Linked DNA regions of Homo sapiens: region 1 is linked to region 2. Evidence: promoter capture Hi-C in 16 types of primary human blood cells and fetal thymus (Javierre and others, 2016). All regions are on one chromosome and are shown on one strand. The core of a region is centred on a gene start or on the middle of the fragment in contact, and the rest is flanking DNA. Distances in the headings are between cores, read along the strand shown. Region 1 has its middle 3.1 kb from the start of ZNF536-AS1. Region 2 holds the start of ZNF507 (zinc finger protein 507).

Evidence for each region. Contacts are between HindIII fragments. The CHiCAGO score rates a contact against its expected background, and 5 or more counts as called.
Region 1: a fragment that was not itself captured here is called in contact with the fragment with the promoter of ZNF507 in region 2 in 1 of 17 cell types (endothelial precursors); the score reaches 6.1 in endothelial precursors.

Annotation. Positions count from the first base shown.
Region 1 is chr19:30,671,936-30,674,635 of GRCh38, forward strand. It overlaps a transcript of ZNF536 not described here. Among named protein-coding and RNA genes, the nearest start is that of ZNF536-AS1, 3.1 kb to the left of the region's middle. The HindIII fragment of the contact is 7,406 bases long and covers 1-2,700 here.
Region 2 is chr19:32,344,320-32,347,035 of GRCh38, forward strand. ZNF507 (zinc finger protein 507) reads left to right here and starts at 1,291. Exons shown (of 7, transcript NM_001136156.2): 1 at 1,291-1,464. RefSeq lists silencers at 1,115-1,244, 1,275-1,464. The HindIII fragment of the contact is 10,893 bases long and covers 1-2,716 here.

The DNA of each region.
Region 1 (2,700 bases), core at 195-2,694, 1.7 Mb before region 2:
CCCATCATCTACCCAGGAGTTCTTTTCTCAGTAGGACTTTACGGAGCGTGGTCACCGCCCTGGGACCCGGCCCACTCAGCCAAGGCTATGTCACTCACTGGGGCCGTCCAGGCCTTCACTTGGGTCACCCGATTCCCATCTCAACGTTTCTTTTTCCTTGCTATAATATTTTATTCAAAACAAGATAGATTACTTGGCCAGAGAAACTGAACCCAGACAGACAGAAAATAGCTTCCCCTTTTATTCTGCAATTCAGAACTTCTTACAAATGATCTGCCAGTTGGGGTGCCCCATCCCCTGGAGGAGTCTGTGTGTGCAGAGGGGCCATAATTGTGCTGATGTTATAGAGACTTAAGTGACCACCCCAGGGCTGCCGTTGCTCAGGTGTGTTTCTGGCATTCCCAAGTTGGTACCCTTACATGCAATATTTTACATTAGAATGCATGCGTTTGAAATAGCGAATTGGTGAACATGTAAACCAGATGCTAAGAGGGCTTTGAGAGCTAGCCTGGGCACCCAATTACAAAAGGGGCATTATTTCCACAGCAAAGCATATTTCAGGGTCCATACAGCAAACAAGGTCAAATCTGAAAGATGGGGTCTGCAAACCTCCATCTTCTTTGTAGTGATGTTTTAATCCCATTCCTCTCCAATCCTAGCTCAAGAATCTGTTAGTAAGAGCATGGGGGAGAATGATGAGAAGCCTGGTTTAAAAAACAAACACATCAAATTCTCTGCTACCACTTATGAGTTCTGTGACTTTAGTCCTTTGCTTGGAATCTTCCAGAATCATACCCTAAGATAAGGATTTAGGCACAGGCAGTTTTTTGGGAGGAGGGAGAGAAGATCCCAGGAAGTACAAGGAGGGAGTGGGGGGAGCAGATGTAGGCGTGTTTTGAAGCAGGTGATCCCTGTGGGAAATGGAGTCTTATTCCTGCTGGGACCCTCCGAGGAACTATGTGGACAACCTCAAGAAAGCTGCGGTGTTTATAAGCCAGCCCCTATCCTGTCTTGGTTGAGTGTATTCCTGGGGTGTTCACCCTTTGGCCCTTTAATCCAATAAGAGCCCATGACTGGAGAACCCCCTTGGCCAGAAAGCCCCATATGCTTTGGCATATGTGGAAACAGCCTGCAGGAGATGGCCCAGGGGAATGGGTGAGGACTCCAGTGCCCCTGTCACATGAGAATCGAGCCTCTCCGAGCCTCCGTTTCCTCATCTGCACTGTCAGCTGTTCCAGCCCGCCTAGGACCCTTCCAGGGTGATCTGTATGATCTGTGTGACCTATGAGACATGAAATAGTGACAGATCTGAGCAGAAGCCAAGCACAGCGCCTGGCCCTTCAGGGGCACACATGACATCACTGTTGTTTCATCACTTTTCTGCTTGGTCTTCCTCTGCCTAGATTCCAATATGAATTTTTTCAGTTCATCTTCAAATCTCTGCTCTCCTCTCCCTGGGGGAAATCTTCATTGCTCCACGCTGGGGTCCTGAACCCACTGAAAACATTCTCTCTGTGTCTGAGAAGCTGACTCAGATTTTCCTTTTGTAGACGGGTCTCCCGCCCTGTGCCTGCCACGGGACTGGCACATACATCGCCCGCACAGCACCATGGCCCTGGCCACCCAGGCACATCTTAAATAAAAGCAATAGTAAAAGAGTCAAGCCAACCAGCCACAGCCACCCTTTTCTCCTCCTGTGGCTGAAGCCTGCAGTGCCCCTAAGCCTGCTATCTCGTCACCTCTTCCTGCCTCTGGGGCACACATCCCAACCTAACTCTCACATGCGTGCCCACCACCCCAAACCGTGCACGGACGCACGTCCCGATGTCAGGTTCCCCATGTTTATAGGTAAAATATTACTGGTGACCGACACACAGCCTTTTTCTCCTACGTTGTCATTTTATGTTAATTGAATGCTAGTGTTAATCTAATAGAGTTTAGATTTATGTTGGGTTCTGTAGCGAGTCATATTTTAATCAATACACATTCCAACATTTAGATGGACAGATGAGAAAAGCAGCTTCATCTCCGCACTTGGGTTCCATCAGCTGTCAATAATTCCCCATTTGAATCCTTCAGATGGTCAGATTTATGGGTTTGAGTATATTGCATTCATCACAGAAATTAACTTTTGGTGGAACTGATGTGAAAGCTCACATCACATCTCCAAGAGGCAGATATTGTGTTTCAGAGCTGAGGCACTCGGAAATATTATCTGAGAGGAGCAGGTTGGCGGGGTGACAGCAGGAGATGGGATAGGGGCCTGGGTGGAGAAGGCTTTCAGGGCACAGTGCTCCTTAAGGCACGTAGGCATCACTCTGTGTCCCGTAAGCAGAGCTAGGGCTGGTTCTGGGCATCCTGTGCCATGCACCCTGTGCCCAGGCTGCCCGGGGATGGAGAGGGAGTGGTTGCATAGAGTCAGGTGAAAGAGGATGCTGTTCCTGCCAGGTAAAAGACTGAAAGACTCTTCTCTTGTGGACCTTGGCTGGTCCTACTCTCAGGTTAATTTCTCAGGAAGCAGAGCCAGAGTTAAGAAATCAGGGCATCCAGGTTTACTTGACATGTGACTGATGGAGTATTGGGAAGGGAAGGAAACCAATGGAGTGTATGCCCTCAATCCAGGTGGGCAGTTGGAGTTTTGGGGAGCTCTGGGACCTGAAGAGCACTCCTCAGAGTGACCCCACCTGAGAGGTGAGGAAG
Region 2 (2,716 bases), core at 41-2,540:
GCGGTGGCTCACGCCGGTAACCCCAGCACTTTGGGAGGCTGAGGCGGGCGGATCATGATGTCAAGAGATCGAGACCATCCTGGCCAACATGGTGAAACCCCGTCTCTACTAAAAATACAAAAAAATTAGCTGGGCATGGTGGCACGCCCTGTAGTGCCAGCTACTCGGGAGGCTGAGGCAGGAGAATCACTTGAACCTGGGAGGTGGAGGTTGCAGTGAGCCGAGATTGCGCCCCTGCACTCCAGCCTGGGGAGAGAGTGAGACTCTGACTCAAAAAAATAAAATAAAAATAAAAATAAAAATTCTAACTTTGCTGGTTTCCTAACCCCCAAATTCAGATGAATTTGAATTCTGAAATACAGTAACAGGAATTATCAGCCTGTCTGATTCTAAATTTTGTTGGATCTTCCTCCCAGGACCGTGGACAGCCCAGCCAGCTGTAAAGGCCTCTAAAAAGATCTGGAACAGATCCCCAAGAGGTATCTCACCAAATGAGTCCATTCCACTACAATGGCCAGAATCTTCAGTTTTACACCCTTGCTCATGCCCACCGCTCACCCGGAGTCCAGACCCAAGCACCATGCTGCGTAGTTCCTAATACGGCAAAACTATCCAGCATTTTTGGTGAAATTGGCTGGAATGCTTCACTTAGTCCGTTTTTCACTGTTAGCAGGAGAACCACCCTAGTATCTTTCATAGAACAGATCCGAATGACAAACACCATCGTGCCCTCGGAGGGCTGAGCTTGTGTTACTGGGTCTGGTCCTACAAACCCTGAAAATCCTGAATCTCTCAAGCAAAGAGATTCCCCAGGGCCAGCTCTGGCCCTTAACAGGCACCCCTTAACGCCAAGCTGCGAATCTGGCTAGGACCTCTATATTTTAGCCAAGAACACCTTGAAATGTACAGTCCTACCAAAGGAACTAATACAAATCCAGAAGCACAAGGCTAAAGAAAAAAAAAAAAAAAACCCCAATGCCCATTGTTGAAAGCCAATTGCGGGGTGAGTGGGGTGATAAGGCTAGCCCACAGCGGATTTAGGCGACGTGGGGAGATGCCAAAGTGAATACACGGTGACTTCTAAATCTAGACGTCTGGAAGGGGCCATGAGAGCCAGACAACTGGGCCCGAACCCCGCCCGGGAGCCAGGGTTTGCAAGGGGCTAAACCGGCTGGGGAGCCTCCCTCTCGCGGGTCCAGCCTCGGCGGCCCGGGACGCCGGTAGGCGGGGCCTGAGCCTCGCCCCGCCCCCGCTGCCCGCCATTCGGGTCACCTGACCCACCCGCGGCTCACGTGATCCGTCCCCAGCGCCGCCATTTTGGAGCTCCGGATGAGGAGGGGGAAACCGGGGGAAAAGAGGGAAAAGAGCCGGGAGAGAGGTGGGCAAGGACGAGGGCGAGGGCACGGCCGGGTCCTGGCTGGCCAAACGAGGCTCGCGGAAGCAGCAGCCGCCGCCTGACCGCAGGTACCGCGCCCCGGGGCCGCCCCTCCGCCCGCTGTTAGCGCCGCCGCCGGCCATGTGCATCCTCCCCTCAGGCCTCTGCCGGCGCTCGCTTCCTCCTCAGCCGGCCGACCCCCGCCCGGTGCTAGCCACAAGCCCCAAGTTCCGTGTCCCGGTTCTGTCTTCTGTGCAGCAAGGCCTGCGGAGACTCTGGGCTTGCCCTGCAGCTGGGGGTGGGGGGAACTTGCTGCTCCCTGCATACTGTCACCAGCCCGGCCCGCCCGCAGGCGTTGCTTCCTTCTCCAGGCGTTGCTTCTTTCTGCAAATGTGAGATCGCTTAGGCCAGCCGGGATGGACCCAGCCACGATGTTCTCACAGCATCTTTTGATTAATTTTCTAAGCTCCCTCATTCCCGACCCATCACCTCAGTCCTTTAGCCAGTGCGTGGTGTAGAAAAAGCTACTACAGAAACGCAGCCCTGGTCTTCTGCATTTATTACCATCCTCTGGAGATAGAATGATGTCTCCAGAGATCACGGAGACCATCAGGGAAAGTTCCCACCTCTTAAGACCTGGGGGCATCGGAATGAATGGTTTGTGTAGAAGGCCGGGATGATTAATAAGGTGGCGGCCACTTTCCCAACCCCAAGGCGGTATTTTTAAGTTTCTGCAGTGGGCTGTAATTTGCTATCAGTCTGCATCGCTCTTCTCAGGCAATTACTGGATTTATCACCTCTTTGAGTTTGCACTTTCTCCAGTACTCCCCTCTCACTCAGAGTATGGGTTGCATTATTGATTAAAAGAAAGCCTGGCCCTTCATTCCTTTACCTCACTAACTCGTTGAAAATTAACTTCAGGGGAGCCCTAAAGATGTTTTTTCTGCCCTGGCAGTGAGCTATTTTACTTAACCGTAATCGATAAGGTAGTTGCATTCTAGGTGAAACGAATAAGCATTTTTTTATCTTTTAGATTTATTCCAGCCAGTATAAGAAACAGTGGCAAAGAAATGTAGGACCAGAGTAGGAAACTGCGTTAGAAGATATATAGGTCACACCACTGTGTCATATCTTTTTATGCTGTTTTTCTGCCTATTGTGCTTGGTTGCAGAATCACTCGTTAGATTGTATTTTTAGTTTAGATTAAAATAGCAATGTGCAATTTATTGTTCCATTCTCATTAGAAAATGTTGTCAGTAAAACCAATAGTGTTGAGTCCAGTACCTAAATTCTGAGGTAAAACAAAATACACAATTATTGGGAGAAGTTTCCAGAGCTATT